Regions from separate parts of the Homo sapiens genome. Here regions 1, 3 and 4 are each linked to region 2. Evidence: promoter capture Hi-C in 16 types of primary human blood cells and fetal thymus (Javierre and others, 2016). All regions are on one chromosome and are shown on one strand. The core of a region is centred on a gene start or on the middle of the fragment in contact, and the rest is flanking DNA. Distances in the headings are between cores, read along the strand shown.

What was found. The method cuts DNA at HindIII sites, captures the fragments that hold promoters and counts their contacts. A CHiCAGO score of 5 or more calls a contact.
Region 1: a contact is called between a fragment that was not itself captured here and the fragment with the promoter of DTD2 in region 2, in 1 of 17 cell types (naive CD8 T cells). The highest score is 5.2, in naive CD8 T cells.
Region 3: a contact is called between a fragment that was not itself captured here and the fragment with the promoter of DTD2 in region 2, in 5 of 17 cell types (total CD4 T cells, M1 macrophages, megakaryocytes and 2 more). The highest score is 8.4, in total CD4 T cells.
Region 4: a contact is called between a fragment that was not itself captured here and the fragment with the promoter of DTD2 in region 2, in 1 of 17 cell types (naive CD4 T cells). The highest score is 5.1, in naive CD4 T cells.

The regions. Positions count from the first base shown.
Region 1 is chr14:32,229,147-32,233,083 of GRCh38, forward strand. No RefSeq gene overlaps it. Among named protein-coding and RNA genes, the nearest start is that of RNU6-8, 28 kb to the left of the region's middle. The HindIII fragment of the contact is 712 bases long and covers 1,316-2,027 here.
Region 2 is chr14:31,455,568-31,459,517 of GRCh38, forward strand. It overlaps DTD2 (D-aminoacyl-tRNA deacylase 2), which reads right to left and starts at 1,939. Exons shown (of 3, transcript NM_080664.3): 1 at 1,716-1,939. The coding sequence starts at 1,826. RefSeq lists enhancers at 958-1,543, 1,544-2,129, 1,574-1,783, 1,924-2,103. The HindIII fragment of the contact is 653 bases long and covers 1,376-2,028 here.
Region 3 is chr14:32,245,175-32,249,146 of GRCh38, forward strand. No RefSeq gene overlaps it. Among named protein-coding and RNA genes, the nearest start is that of RNU6-8, 44 kb to the left of the region's middle. The HindIII fragment of the contact is 8,217 bases long and covers 1-3,972 here.
Region 4 is chr14:32,102,132-32,106,134 of GRCh38, forward strand. The region is part of intron 2 of ARHGAP5 (Rho GTPase activating protein 5); the gene reads left to right. Among named protein-coding and RNA genes, the nearest start is that of ARHGAP5, 27 kb to the left of the region's middle. The HindIII fragment of the contact is 5,331 bases long and covers 1-4,003 here.

The DNA of each region.
Region 1 (3,937 bases), core at 422-2,921, 770 kb after region 2:
AGGCATGAGCAACCACACCCAGCCTGAAAGCCAACTTGTACAGGTCTCTTCAGTTGGTGAAGGCATTTGGGCTTCACCCTAAAACAGAGCGGAGTAACAGAAGGGTTTTTAGCAAGGGGTGTGACATGCTAAGATATATATGTTATAAAGATTACTGGGCTTAATGTAAAGAATGGATTGGAAGACAGGTAAGGGCGCTGTTATTGCAATTTGGGGAAATGAGGATTTTGGCCTGAACTAGGCTAGTGAGTGGAGAAAAGTAGATGGATTCAAGAGAGGGAATTGGCAGGATGTGAGGAAGTTTGGGTGAGGAGGAGCAAAGGGTGAAGCATGATTCCCAGGTCTTTGATTTGGGCAGTGATGGAGTGTGGTGCCATCAATAAGACAGGGACCATAGAAAGAAATGGGTGAGGAAAGGTGGTAGAGAAAACAGTGGGTTCAGTTTTCTACAGTTGGAGTTTGAGGAGCTTGTGGGACATCCTAGAGATGTGTAGGTGGCAGTTGGATGAATGGACCTGAAGTTCTGAAGAGAGCTATCAATTGAAGTACAAATTTGGGAGTTTATGATGTAGATATGGGAATAGATATGGGAGTAGATGCATTTTTTCAAGGAAATACCAACATTTATTGTCTTGGCAGAAAGGGAGGTACAAAATAAACCTAACTGTGAGTAGCCAGAGAGCTAGAAGGCAAACACAGAGAGGCATACTTGGGGAATAGAGAATTTAAAGACAGAGGGAAAGGTCCACCTTCCTCACCTTTGGGTCATCCAGTCTCTAGGTTCCTAAATAATTCAGTGTGCTTTTGGTCAGTAAGTCCTAGAATAGGGGGGGGAAAAAGCATATCAAACCACTGCTGTGTGAATGCTATAGCCCTAGGTCATTGGTCTGTTTTATTTAAACATATCTAGGTTCTGCTCCCTCTGAGGATTTTACCTAATGTTAAAGAGAATGAGAAGAAATACTCTTTATACATTATAAAACTATGCTAATAGTAACCAGCAGGGAAATTGACCTATAAATACTCTGAGCACATTAAGGTAAGCACATTTTTTTAAAGTTACGTCTTTTGGCTATGGTCTAATGTGATGATTAGTGAAAATGGAATTGAAGAGTGACAGGAAATATTAATGGCAGGCAGCACACAGTCGTTTGGCCTTAGAAAGAACAACGGACTTTATCTGTTCCCAGAGGGAAAATTTGATGAGTAATGACCTTGATACACATTTTAAACACTCTGACAATGAAGTAATAGGTGCTGCTTTTGCTCTTTGACCAGCAGATTCTCCTTTGCTGCAGTTAGGTGTACTACTTAAAGCTTGTTTAGAGGGCCACCTAAGGGTACAGGCAGAAGCATCACAACATCTATATTTCTGTTATAGGCAGTGATGAGTACTATGAGCCTCTTATAAGAGGCTGCAAGGGGTTGCTGTACCATCAGGCCTACTTTCCTTGGAGAGGGAATAAAGCAAGTCCAAGGTGCTCAAGAAGGTACACTTTCCCAAAACATCCCACTCCCCACGTTGCTGATTAAGATCTAATGATTCACATTTAGATGCCCTTCCACCCCCATCCCCATCCTGACAACACAAAATTTGAGTCAAGCCTCAACCTTGCTAAGTAAACAGATTTGTACTTGTTACTCTTAGCAGCACTGGAGTCTAAAGACAGACTATGTGGGAAGGCAGATTCTTAGTTACCTCCTCCCCAAGCTGTTGCAGGAATTTCAGATCCCTGCTTGCCAAAGCACTTTTATGGGGTTAAGAATTTTTTTGTGTGTGTTGGGGATAGGGGAATGTACAGCCTTGAGTGACTCATGCCCTTCTCTGGGCCTCAGTTTTTCCCTGTTAGGAGGGAAAGGAGCTGTATTAGGGGATCCTTGAGTTTCCCTAAGCCTGGCCTGTATCCCCTCACCAACTGGATCCACGAGCCAGAGCCTGCTTTAGCCAGGCCCATTCTCTGGTTGGCTTGGCTGGCTTTAGAGGGCTGCAAATAGGCAAATCACTATTTGTCAGTCTGTAGAGAGGAAGCTTATTTGCAGTGGGAACACCGTAGGAGGAGATTTCTAAGTTGAAAATGCAGGTACTCCTCCTCTGGGGAATGGAAGAAAGACAAAGAGCCCATTAAGGGTTCTAGAAATCAGAATGGTTAGATTCTTCCTGGCCCTGTCAACGTTTGCCTATTACCCTGGCCTCATCGGTTGGCATTTGCTTGTGTGAAAAGGTTCCAGGTTTAGAGAAAGGGTGTCGGAGGCAGACAAACCTAGCTCTGTCACTTGGTTGTTGTGTGATCATGTATGAATTGCTGGAATTTCTGCACCTCATTTTCTTTTTTAAGGATGTTTCATAGGCCTGCAGGAGGACTAAATGAGATACATAATACATGTGAAACAGGAATGCAGAGCCTGGCATGGGAAGGGGTTACCTCCTTCCTCCTGCAGTCCTTCTCTTCACTTTCATCTTTGCTCACATGTTATTCTCCCTACTGGAAACTCACCTTCAGTGCTCTGTGAGGCCCTCCTGTCTGTGCCAGTGCTCAAGTCCTCCTGGTACCCTAGCATGCATTGCCTCACCTCACATTTTAGTAACAGCCTTCTTATATTCTTTCACTGGTTTTGCCCATCTAGATTACTGCTCTCTGAGGGAGGTATCCTGTCAAATACTGGTAATCTTTCTTCAATTCCTGGTAAGGTGTTAGGTACATAGTAGGGGCCTAAGCAATATTTGAATGAATGATTATAGAAAGAACCAGTTACAGAGAGCAAGAGGGGGCAGTATGGGCAGTGGGTAAGGCCTGTATGGATGCTAAAACCAGCCTGCCTGGGTTTGAATTCTGGTGCTGCCAGTTTTTAGCTTTGCAACTTTAAAAGAGTTGCTGAACTTTACCCCTCAGTTTTCTCATCTGTATAGTGGCAGTGGTAAAAATAGTACCTTTCTCCTAGGGTTATTGTGAAGATTGAGTAAGTTAGTATTTACAGTGTTTAGACCAGTGCCTGGCACTTAATGCTATATAAGAACCCACCATTATTATTTTAAAGATCAGACACGCTTGAGTTGAAAGCCTGCTCTACTACTTACTAATGATGTGACTGCAGGCAGAAATTATTCAACTTCTCTGTGCTTCAACTTCCTTCTCTGTAAAATAGGGATAACCTATCAACGTAAATAGTGATAAATAGAGATAAACTATCAACATAACATGTACTTGATAACTGGTGGCTATTAGAAGCCTGCTTCAGTCTCCTAGAAACAAGAGTTCAATCATGACTGCATGAAGAATCATTGCAGTAGCCCAGGCCCTGTTTAGGAAACTGAAAACCTGGAGCTTACCCTGACTGGGAAGGAGTGAGAAGACCTGAATTAGGAGTTGTGGATGTATTGAAGGAAGGGATAGGGAAGTTACTTTGTGCTGGTTGCTAAGCTGTATCACCAAAATCCTGACCAAATTAAGTCAGTAAAAATATATTTGGAAGGAGCTGGAGACTTTTGCCCATGTGAAATTCCAACACAGGCTCATACCTGCCACCTTTCTGCATATCTCTTATTGTATGAGGTGTTTCTCATGTTTTGTCCTTATGTAGCCAGCTGTGTTACTGTCATGGTGATGCTCCTGGTGTGTGAGAGTGGAAGTATGCCATCCCATCTTCTGCAGGCCAAGTCGGTCTGTTACTCTCATTCTCAGAGAAGGTGAGATTTGCCAGTGCAGAGCTTACATATCTGGAGGTGCCACTTGCCCTCTTCTTCTGAAGCTGCTTTGAGACTCAGAGAATCCTGATTCTAGGGTTCAGTCTATTGATTCTCACTTCTGAAATCTGATTTGATCTTAAGTGATGTTTTAGATTCTAGGGGGATCTAACTTCTGCCAGCAGTGAGGGGCTGACTTCTCTCCACTGTTGAGGACAGAGGCAATCTGAGGGTTATGGTCTCAGTAAGGAACCC
Region 2 (3,950 bases), core at 689-3,188:
AAGGATAATTATTTTATTTATTATTTATTTTTGAGATGAGGTTTCACTCTGTGGCTCAGGCTGGAGTGCAGTGGCGTGATCTTGGCTCACTACAACCTCTGCCTCCCGGATTCAAGAGATTCTCCTGCCTCAGCCTCCCGAGTAGCTGGGATTACAGGTGCCCGCCACCAAGCCCGGCTAATTTTTGTATTTTTAGTAGAGACGGGATTTCAACATGTTGGCCAGGCTGGTCTCAAACTCCTGACCTCAAGTGATCCGCCGGCCTTGGCCTCCCAAAGTGCTGGGATTACCGCGCCTGGCAGGTTAATTCTTTAGATAGGATGGCAAAATAAAATAATAAAATTTCAAATAAGGAAATCAAGACCTCACAAAAAATCATGACAAAAATAAGAAATAAGAAAAGTGAATTTCTGGGAAAGGAGAGAGATAAGAATACAGGAATTTCTATGCTTATATTTCCAAATTAGCACAGGGCAACAGATTCTGATTTTAGAATAATCACCCACACATCATATAGTTCACGGGTACTATTTACAATAAGTAGGCGGGGTGCGGTGGCTCAGGCTTGTAATCCCAGCAGTTTGGGAGGCTGAGGCAGGTGGATCACCTGAGGTCAGGAGTTCCAGACAAGCCTGGCCAAAATGGCGAAACCCCGTCTCTGCTAAAAATACAAGTTAGCGTGGTAGCTTGCGCCTGTTGTCCCAGCTACTCGGGAGGCTGAGGAAGGAAAATTGCTTGAACCCGGGAGGCGGAGGTTGCAGTGAGCCGAGATCGTGCCACTGCACTCCAGCCTGGGCGACAGATCGAGAATTCATCTCAAAAAATAAAATAAAATATAAATAAATAAAATATAAAAAATAAAATAAATGTAAAATAATAACTAAAATTGTTTTAAGTAATGCTAGATCTGGGACCGAATTCAGCAGAAAAGGCGAGCGAATGAGATTTTGCTACACTGAAGTTTCTGAGTATCTACAAAAGTCTTAATTATGAACTAATTTTTTTCTTACATTTCAACGTACTCCAAAAATACGTCAGAGGCCTTAAAGAAAATTTTATTTGTTTTTGTATGCAGTGGGGGCAGGCGGTCTTAAAAAGTAAAGTATGTATGAAAGTAGAAGGAACTCATAGTGACATAAATGTTTTAAATTCTTTGGAGAAATGTGTTTGATAAGGCAACATTGTTATAAAAGTAGAGGTCTTTGTTTCTCAGTTGGAAATTGGTCAAAACTTTTAAAAGGCTTCTTGAAATAGAATTGTTTCTTAGGAAATCTCATTTCTATGCTAAGACCAAGTCAACATAGGGGGGAATTCGACGCGATCTGAGGCGTAAGTCAAAGCAGATCATGAACTCTTGCAGCAAACCTGACCTACAAGCTTGCCCCCGACCAGCATAGACCACGAGCTGCAAGGGGTCTGAGACAGTAAGGCCTGAAGTTCACCGAACTCAGTTTCAAATACCTGTGGTCCCCCCAAGAAGGGAGACACGCTCTTCCTCTCGGGTGCTACAACTGGCGCTGGGGAACGGTGATGCTGGACCGAAAAGACAAGCGCAGCCAGGCAGGCCACCGCGGCCAGCTTCAAGCTGACCCGGTATCCCCGCGGCCGGACCGCCGGTCTCAGAGGGAGACACAGAGCGGACGAGTCACCGAGACAACGCGGAAAAAACCGCCCCGCACGCCGGAGGATAACGAGAGCTGCCGGGCTGACGTTACCTCCACCCACTGGGCCGCGACGTCCCCATCGGCTGGGCGAATTTGCAGCCGGGCGTGCAGGCACTGCTGTAGGAGCGCCCGGGCCTGAGGAATCCGGCTACCCTCAGCCATGGCTTAAGCCAGCGCCGCGGCCGGACAGTTACTAGGCCATGTGTCGCTGGCCCCTCCCTCGACGCGCTGGCGGGGCAGACGAGGCGGGGCACGACGAAGGGCCTGCGCCGATTGCCCAGTGGCCCCGCCCTTAGGAGGGCGGGGCCTCGGACTGACTCTCGAATGTCCCGGATGTGCGGTCTTGGAGGCCGGCGTAGCGCTAAGCTTCTCGGCAGCACCTGCCCAACTCTGTAGAAGGCGCTCAGTGTATACTTTTATTAAACGATTGAAAAGACTCGTTAAATCTCTTTCCTACAAACCTTTTAAGAAACATTTTTCACCTCAGAAAGCTTAGGTTCCAACTGTTGAAAAATTTTAAATCTGCTTGATTTAAATTCATGTTATGCCCATATGAAAGTAAGTAAACAAATAATCGAATCATAAAGCAAGCGGAGATGGAACTAAAAGCTATATATACATCCTTCAAAATTTTCCTTATTCCAATCAATAAAAACAATGCTGCCTCCTCTATCGGGAATGCCATAAATTATTCTGATTCCACAGTTGTGAAAAGGTATTGGTATGCTATACGAATACACATTCTTTAGAAGATATCCTTGTTAAAAATGTTCTTATCCAAGAAAGTATGATTGTTAATAACTTAGCCCGCTACTAATACAAAAATAAAACAGCTTATTCTGATGCATATGACGTAAATTCTGTGATGCATTTTCTGGAAGTACATATTAGAATGTAAATAAAACTAAACAAGGGCTTGATTTTCTTTCCCATGTAACGTATTCCTTAAACATGCATCAGATTAGCATTTATTTGTCTATGGGCTTGGATGGTTTAGATGAGGAATAATAGTGTTACCCTGATTGCATTACCCAGGTCATTGATTTGGGCTCAGTTGACACAATGTGCCTATACATTCGGATCTGTTGTTTAAAAAGATGACATCACTGACAGTGTTGCTATCCATACAAAGTAGTGTGACTGAAGAAAATAGTCCATGCATAATCAACAGTCCTTTGTACACAAAATCGAAGCTGCTTGTTTGCTGGTTATCTTGCAGCCAGGTTTACACTTTTAGTAAAAACAGAAAGCAAAATCTCACATGATCTCTGATTGTTGCATTGCAGGGATTCCAACAGTTGTTGACATTTGTCTGCAAAGCACAGACAAGTTGAATTGCTTCATGTCTGCACCTTTATGTCATTATAACTACTGAGTCTCTTTTCTCTCCGGCTCTCAGATTCAGATTTTACAGGCCTGAAAGAAACTTTGACATACAAACCATTAGCTATGTCCCAGAATAAGAAAAGACTTTGGTGTCCATTTGTATGTGGCTGCAGGAAATAGGGAGGTCTATAGAGAATAGGTTATGTGGTTCGCAGAGATCTTTCTACAGAGAGGGTTTCTTTAACAAATTGGGAAACCCTTCCTGTGAGTAGAATAGATGGAGTATGGATGGTAATGGTTAGCTTCTCAAAAATCACTAATTACTTTAAACCCTCCTATTGAGTGAGGATCTCGTGGACATTGCTGTAGGTACTGTAATAGGCTGTGGCTCACTTATTTTTTACTTCTATTTGCAGAAGGCTATAGAGAGTGGCCACCAAAGACAGCATTTCCTTTCTGTATTTTATTTTTTGAACACTTAGTTTCATTCTGCAAATAATTTAAGAAGGAAGGACATGCATGCAATAAAATAGTAAAATGTGAATTAAAGCATTAGAAATAAAGAAACTAGAATTATGTCAGTAAGCCACAATGGGGGAAATTGAAAACAGGTAAGACAGTGGTTCTCAACTGGAGTGCTGAGATGATATAGTATGCAGCAAAATTTTCACAAATGTATAACTTTAATTTTTGTTATAAAACAATTATGTTCATTGTATGTAGTATTGAGGTGCTGTAGGTTGTACAATTTGTTTCAAGTTGGAACTAAAGGCAAAGCATAGCATTAAGTTGGCTTTACAAGAAGATGGTGGTTCACTGGAATGTGAGAGAGCTTTGCCTTGTCATTGTATGAGAAATCATTGAGCAGAGATAATTCTCAAACACCTACAATGCTGAAAGTGTACCATATGGATAGGGGATTAATTGTGGATGGGTTCTATGTCCTCTGAGATGGTACAA
Region 3 (3,972 bases), core at 1,190-3,689, 790 kb after region 2:
TCAGGAGCAGGATTGGCTGTCCCATGGTGATTTTGAGGGCCTCCTGGAGTAGGATGGCTGCTGCAGCCACTACCTTGAGGCAGTGTGACCATCCTTGTGCTACTGGGTCTAGGTTCTTTGAAAATTAACTTATAGGATGTTTGATTGGCCCAATGGTTTGAGTTAGAACTCCTAGGGCTACACATTGCCTTTCAGTGATGAAAAGCTGAAATGGTTTGGTTAGTATGAGTAGCCCAAGGGCTGGGGCTTGTGAGAGGGCAGTTTTTAGCTGTTTAAAGGCTTGCTCTTGATCCCTTCCCCAGAGAAATGGATCCCTATCAGTCCCTTCTTTTAGTGCCTGATATAAAGACTTAACAATTCCACCATATCCCAGTACCCAAAGTCTGCAATATCCTGTGATCCCCAGAAAAGTGCAAAGTTACTATCAGGTGGTTGGGGTAAGTATACTAAGGAAGGCTTGTATCTGTTCTGGGGAGAGCTTATGTTCTCTGGGGGTCAGGATTATTCCCAGGTATTGGACCTCTTAACTTGGTAGCTGTGCCTTGGCCTTGGATACCTTGTCCTTGGATACCCTCTGTCTGTGAGGAAATTTAGTGTCTGGACTAGATGTTGGATTCCTAACTCTTGTAGGGGAGCAGATTGATAGGTCATCCATGTGCTGTAGGAGATGCCTTCCCCACCTCAAGAATTAGGTCCTGCAAATCTCTAGCTAAGACTTGCCCAAACAAATGGGGACTATCTCTGAAGCCTTGTAGAAGGACTGTCCAGGTAAGCTGTTGACTCCTTCCTTTTTCATTTTCCCACTCAAATGCAAATAGAAATTGGGAAGTTGGGTCTCAGAGGGTACAAAAGAAAGTGAGTTTGAGATCTAAGACTGAAAACCACTGAGCATCTGAAGGACTTCTGCTAGAATTACATATGGGTTGGGGACTATTGGGTATATAGAGACTACTGCCTCTTTTTTGATTTGCAGGCCCTGGACCATCCTGTATTCTCCATTGCTCTTTTTAAAAGGTAAGATAGGCATGTTACAGGGTGAATTACAGGGTAGTAGTAATTCATGTTCTAGAAATTTTTCAATCAGCAGCCAAAGTCCCTCTTTGGCCTCCTGCCAAAGAGGAAGCTGACTTCTACAAGGATAGCTAGAAGGATCTTTAAGCTGAATTGCTACAGGCATTGCCATTATGGTGTTTCCTGGTATTCCTGGGGCCTGGACCTCTGGATTATTGGGAAGGTCTGTGGGCAGCTCATCCTTGTGTGTGGTTTCCTTGAGGCATAAGATCGCATTTGGAAAGGGAGTGTTGGCCCTGGAGGAAAGATTAACTGAGCCCTGAGTCTACGCAAAATATCTCTACCCAAAAGGGGCAGAGGACATTCTGGCAACACTAAAAATGAATGAGCAAAGACAGTTTTCCCCCATAGGCAGCATGGAGGAAGAGTAAACCTCTGGGTTATGGGTACTCCATTTACCCCCATCACCTGGCGGATTTGGAGGATTTGGAGGATAATTGCCAAGGAAAAGAGATAAGCACCGAGCAGGCCACTTCCATGTCCAAAAGAAAACTTATAGTACTACCTGCCACGTCCAAAGCAGCCCTTGGCACTGTCCCTTCAATAGTGATGTTCAATCCGGGAGCAGACCAGAGCATAGGGCCCCTTTAGCTCAAGGCCATCAGGGTTGAGATTCTGTCCCTGGGACCCTTCAGCCCTCAGGGCAGTTCTGTTTCCAGTGGCAGAGCTTGTGGCAGAGGGGGCAAGCCGCGCAGGGCTTCTTCCCTTTGTCCCATCGGGGCAGTTTGCCTTCCAGTGGCCTGGCTTCCCACACTGATGGCAGTTACCTGGGAGAGTATTCTGAGTGCAACCTGGAAAGGGCTGGCAGACTTGTAGGACAACCAGTAGAGCTTTTCCTTTTGCCTCTCATTTTGCTGAGCCCTTTCCTTTTCCTCCTGGTCCTGGTTGTAAAAGACCAAGGAAGCTATTTTAAGGATGTCAGGTGTAGGGGTGTTGGGGCCTAGTGCTAGTTTTTGGAGTTTCTTCTGAATATCTTGAGTTAGGAAACTTGAGTTAGGAAACGGCCCTTTAGGACCAGTTACCCTACTTGTGTCTCTAGGTCTAGGTTAGTATGTTTCACTAGGGCCTCTTATAGCCTCTCTAGGAAAGTGGTGGGGTTTTCAAGAGGGCCTTGATTTATTAAGGCAAATTTAGTATAGTTCACAGGCTTTGCTCTGCTAGTTTTCAATCTTCTACCAGACAGAGAAACATGTGGTTCCTTGCCCACATACCCCACTGGTTATTGTATTCCCAATTGGGGTTGACCTGGGGAACTGTGGTGACCCCACAGAGTAGCCACCAGAGTCAGTCATGTACATTGTGTTTACAAATTGTTGGGCTGCCTCCATAACGTAGTCGTGTTCTCCCTTAGACAGTGTTTACCCTAGTATGACTGAGAGGTCCCTCCAGGTGAGTTCAAATGTTAAGCCCAGTTTACAGGAACCCTTTGATGTATTTGTCAGGGTCCTCCAGAAACTTCCCTAGTTCCATTTTAATTTGGCTCAGGTCTTGCAGTCAGTCTGGACTCTGGTGGGTACACTAGGGTCATTAACCTCCTGAAGGGGGCATACTTAAGAGGGTGGGGTCCAGAGGATGGCCCTGGGTAGGGAGGGGAGAGCACCAGGGCTGGGAGACTTGGATATAATAGGGTAGAAGGGGCAGTGGGGTTTGTGCTAAGCTCTGTCCTTGGTTCTTCTGGGGCTTGAGCCCTGGGTAAACCTTATAAAAGGTCTCCCAAACCAACCAGAGGGGGCTGCCTGACTATGGCTGCTATCATCCCTGGATCCATTTTATAAGCCCAACAAAGGTCAGGGTTATTTTCTAGAGTCATGAAGGCCTGTACATAGGGGATTTTTGTCCCTTTTCCCTGTTAGTGGCAAAACAAATCTAGTTGATAGATTGTACTAAAATGTGTGCTTCCATTCGCTAGCCAAGATTCCTAGTCCTGGAGCTTGTATTCAACCCAGGCTGTGTTATAGAAAAATATTAACCTTTTCTGTGTTACAGAAAAATATAAATCCAAACCTTTAGCGTTTGGGGGTCAAACTTTTCCCTGTTCTTGCGGATGCTTCTGAGGGGTGTGTCCTGTGGTATGGAGACATGATTATCCATCTGTGAAGAGAGAACAGAGGAGACAAAAAGGAAAAAGAAGGCATACCCTCTTATTTCCCTGTCATCCTTTCCTGAACAGGGCATCCCCCATTCATCCTTAGGGTTCTGAAATGAACCAGTCTTACCAGGTACCCTTAACCTTGATCCTGTCTCATCACAATTACCCACTTGAGAACAGAAGAGATAGCAGAGTAAATAGGGACCCCCTATTCATCTTTGGGGTTCTGGAATGAACTATTCTTACCAGGTACTACTAACCTTGACTTCACCTCTGTTCTAATGGTAATTTGTTCTGTGCCTATAGCCTAGGACCAGCCTTTATCTCTGTCCTATGGGTACTTTTGTCTCTTGTACCTATGACCTTGAGCTGGCCTATATCCTTGTCTCCATGTCCTTACAGTGACTCTCACTTGGAGAATTCTAGCACAAAATGATTATCTCTTTTCTTATAATCCCATTTCCCATGTTTTTTAGTAGATGAGAAGCCTGTTTTTCAGCAAATTACTACAAGGGACTGAATTCCCCTTTCTTTGAATATGACCTTGAAGGTCTTGATGTATATTGAGAGCATGGAAGTGATTAGAGAAATGGAAGAAAATTTGTATTTGGGGTTTTTCATCCTCCCAGGGTAATCTGCAGAACAAATGCTTAAACAGGTAGGACAATCTCTCTGCTCCAGGAGGAAGCAGGAGGAAGCAAGGGGGATACTCACGGAAAGCCTCATATGCTCACAAAAACAGCAGCCCTTGAATTTGAGAGGGCAATATTTGTGTACCTTCTTGACATAAAGGAGGAACCTCCGAAGGACTT
Region 4 (4,003 bases), core at 1,277-3,776, 650 kb after region 2:
CCTTGCTTAATTTCTTCAGAGTTGATGTGGAATATTCATTTTATCCATTGTTACCTTGAAAACATCCCCTTAGGGGAGAAAGTGAGAGTCACCTTTGTACAGGAAGTGTGTTCAAAAGAATGAGAAAGGTTTTTTTCTAGACCCTTCAACCAGCATCTTTTCTAGTCTGCCTTGAGTTAGGTCCTGCACCTGTTCCTAACCAATACAGTCTGTCCAGGGTAGTAGAATTATCCAACTGAATTTAGGTCTGACCAGCCTGGGCAACATAGTGAGACACCATCCCTACAAAAATGTAAAATCTCAGCTGGGCATAGTGATGAGCCCCGAAGGATCACTTGAACCCAAGAGTTTGAGATTGCAGTGAACTGTGACTGCACCACTGCATTCTGGTCTGTGCAACAGAGCGAGACCCTGTCTCGAAAACAAAGAAAAATGAGTTTAGGTTTTAGTCTTTATCCTGAGAGCTCTGAGTGAAATTGGCTTTCTGTGAAATTAAGATAATTTCTAAGATAGGAAAACCACAATGTCTACTGCAGGCAAGATTTGTATCTTGTTTATAGTTGATCTCCATGGCCTAGCACAGTACTCTGTGTCATAGTGTGATCAGTTGAAGTCAGCATAAATGTATGGCCTTTGTTTTTGTAAAAGAACTGTTCATGTGTTTAACTACAATTTATTTTGACTCAGGAAAACTCATTTTATTCAACAAGCATTTTGGTAAATGCCTACTGTGCCTGAACACTGTTAGAAACTAATATGGGGATGACTTGGTCATTCATTGGCTCTGCTTTCAAGAAATTCAGTCTAATAAAATTGATTTTGCTGAAAATTAAATATGTTTTATATTTTCAACAAGTTTAGCCAGACTTCTGGTTCTTTCTCATATTTCATCTCATCTGGAAAGAATTTACTTAGGCTTTCTTCAGTACCATTTCTATTGCTTTCTTCCTGGGTAACTGGCTAAATTGATCTACCTGGTTAACTAGATCTGTGATGTTTCTATAATTTCTCATAAAGTTAAAATTTGTTTCTTCAGCATTTTTGGTGCTGGCTACACCAATTTATGATAACATAAGTGTGGATATGTAGTGCAAGTATTTCTGGCAGTATTTTACTATTTGCCATTTCTTTGAATTCTGTGTTGTCCATTTGATCATGATTTATTGCTTTTCAAATTCAGATTGAAATGTAATTAGATGGTTAATTTTTAAAGTATATTTCTGATTTATATATTTTGTTAAGACTTAATTGGAAAGATTATGTCAGTGGCATACATTTTCGCTAATTTAAATTTGGCTTTCTATACAAACTTTTTCTTAGTGTTTATAGCAGCGTACTGAATATTTTGTAAAAGCATAGTACAGATTATTGAAGTTACTCATTTCTGCAGCAGATTAATAGTAAATGTTAAGTATGTGTCAAGGAGGCACTTCTGTAACATAGATAATTGTGTTCTTATGTTAATGGACAGTTGTTACTATTGCAAGACTATAGGTAAATTTATAGGTTTGCCAATTTATGTACACCAAAATTTTGTATACTACAAATTGTGTCAATCCTAGGAGAGGTTTTTTACAGTAGATGCAGTGTTATGATTTCTTGCTCTGTAATGTTTTCCTGTCATCTCAGCTAAAGTGTGGATGGAGTACTCAAGTAAATAGGGCTTAATCTGTGACTTTTAAAGAAGAGAAACCCCAGAGCATAGGAGGGTTGCTTTTTAAAAATAGTAGTAATTTTTGATGTTTAGAATCCTTACAACAAAATATAAGGATATGACAAAAGAGATCTTATGATTGTATCGTAGTCAAAATAAAGGGTACAACTTGCATACATTGTATAACAATTGTTTTGAACTTTTTGGAAATTGTTCTTAGCCTTTGAAAATCTGAGTCAAGGTTTGGGTATTTTCCCTAGAAAAATGCACATGCACAAAATTTTACTGGAGTTTTAACGGTTTCAAATACTTTCTAAAGGCCTGTGGATCCCAGTTTAAGAAACTCCTTGTATAAGATGAGAGGGAGGAGGAAGACACTGAAATTTGGGGAAGCTGGGTAGAAATCCACCCATTCACTTGAATAGTTAGTTGCTTTGCTAGAACTTTCTCCAAGTGACTCCAGGTTTATTTTTTGTTAAGTTGTTAATGGCATTAATAAAATATCTGCCACATATATAATATATGTTGAAATGCTTTTTAGGAAGATGTTATCTTAGAGAATAAAGGTTCCTGAGTCAAGGTTAAAATTAGTTTGCCTGATAAGTATGTACAAAAACCTAGACCACATTTATTTACTCTGTTGTTTTTTATTTCCTCTTTTCACCTAGTGTTAGCATAAAGGGTGTGAGAGAGTCTTCACAATGTAAGTTTTCTGAAGTGTGTTTGGACTTTCAGCCAGCACTTACGGCTTTTATAGGCTTAAAAAAGGGATTAAATAAACCTTTAGAGTGCTGGGTCCCCTGAAGGCTTCTTTCTTACACCAGTGTGTTAAACTATAATGTAATGCTGCTTCTCACTGCCTGATCACTTTATATTGTAGTTTAATTTTGTTTTTCTATGTTATAACCTTTCTGAGGGCAGTTATGGTTATCATTCAACTTTGTATAACCTGCAGTATTGTTTCTCAGTCTTGAGTCGTGTATGGACCTTTTTTAAAGTTAAAATTCTCAGGCTTTTCAGAAATATATCTGTAGCTATTTCCCAAACTTGAGTTATTGGTCTTTGTTTTTACTAGTCTAGCACAGTGGCTATCAACCAGGGTCAGTTTGGCCCTCCAGGAAGCATATGGCAATGTCTAGAGACATTTTTGGGTGTCACAACTGGAAGTAGGAGGTTGCTGCTGGCATCTAGTGGGTAGAAGCCAGGGTTACTGCTAAACATTGAATTGCTAAACTGAATTGCAGAATTCACAGGCCATCTTCCACAACAAAGGATTATACAGCCCAAAGTGCCAATAATCTTGAAGTTGAGAAACCCTGGTGTAGGAGACTATGTCTTGAAAAAAATGTCTATGCAGTTCTAGAAGTCAGTCATACAAGGCATGTTTGTATCTGTTCAATAAGAAAGGTAGGGTTTTCCATATAGGTCATAGCGTTTTCTTCCCCAGCCTCACCGTGATTGGGTAAGAATATATTTTCAGGATTATGTTAACTGTGGGCCAGAGCTACATGCTATTGTCATTTATCATACTCGACTGTTTATCATTCATTATTCTGCTATAAAATGTGTTGCTTCCGTTCCATTTTCATACTAGTTGAGGTTGTCATTATTTCTTACCTGCATTATCACAAATACCTTTTTTAAAGAAATAAAGATTCTATTTTGAGCTAATTGTTGATTCATATGCTATTGTTTTTTTTTTTAAAAAAAAGAGAGACCCCATGTGCTCTTTGCCCATTTTCCCACAATGGTAATATCCTGCAAAACTATAGTACAATATCACAGCCAGGGTGTTGACATTAATATGATCTACAGATCTTATTCAGATTTCCCCAGTTTTACTTGTACTAATTTGTACATGTGTATATTTTGTTCTTTGCAGTTTTTCATGTGTATAGGTTTGTGTGTCCCTCCCATAGTCAAGATGTAAAACAGTTCCATCCACTAGCAAATTAACTTGTTTTGTCTTTTTATAACTACATGCTTTTCCTTCTCCTCACCCATCCCTAACCACTGATAGCCACTACTCTGTTTTTCATTTCTATAATTTTGTCATTTCAAGGATGTTATATAAATGGAATCACAGGGCATATAACTTTCTGGGATTGACTTTCATTTACCATAATGCCCTTGAGATTCAGCCAAGTTGTTGCGTGCATCAACAGTTTGTTCTTTTTATTGCTGAATAATATTCCATAATATGGATACATCAGTGTTTTAACCTGTTGAAGGACATCAGGTCGTTCCAGTTTTTGTCCATCTTGAATAAAGTTGTCATGAACATTCGAATACAGGATAAGAAACTGCCAAACTGTTTTCCAGAATGGGTATACTATTTTATTTATTTAT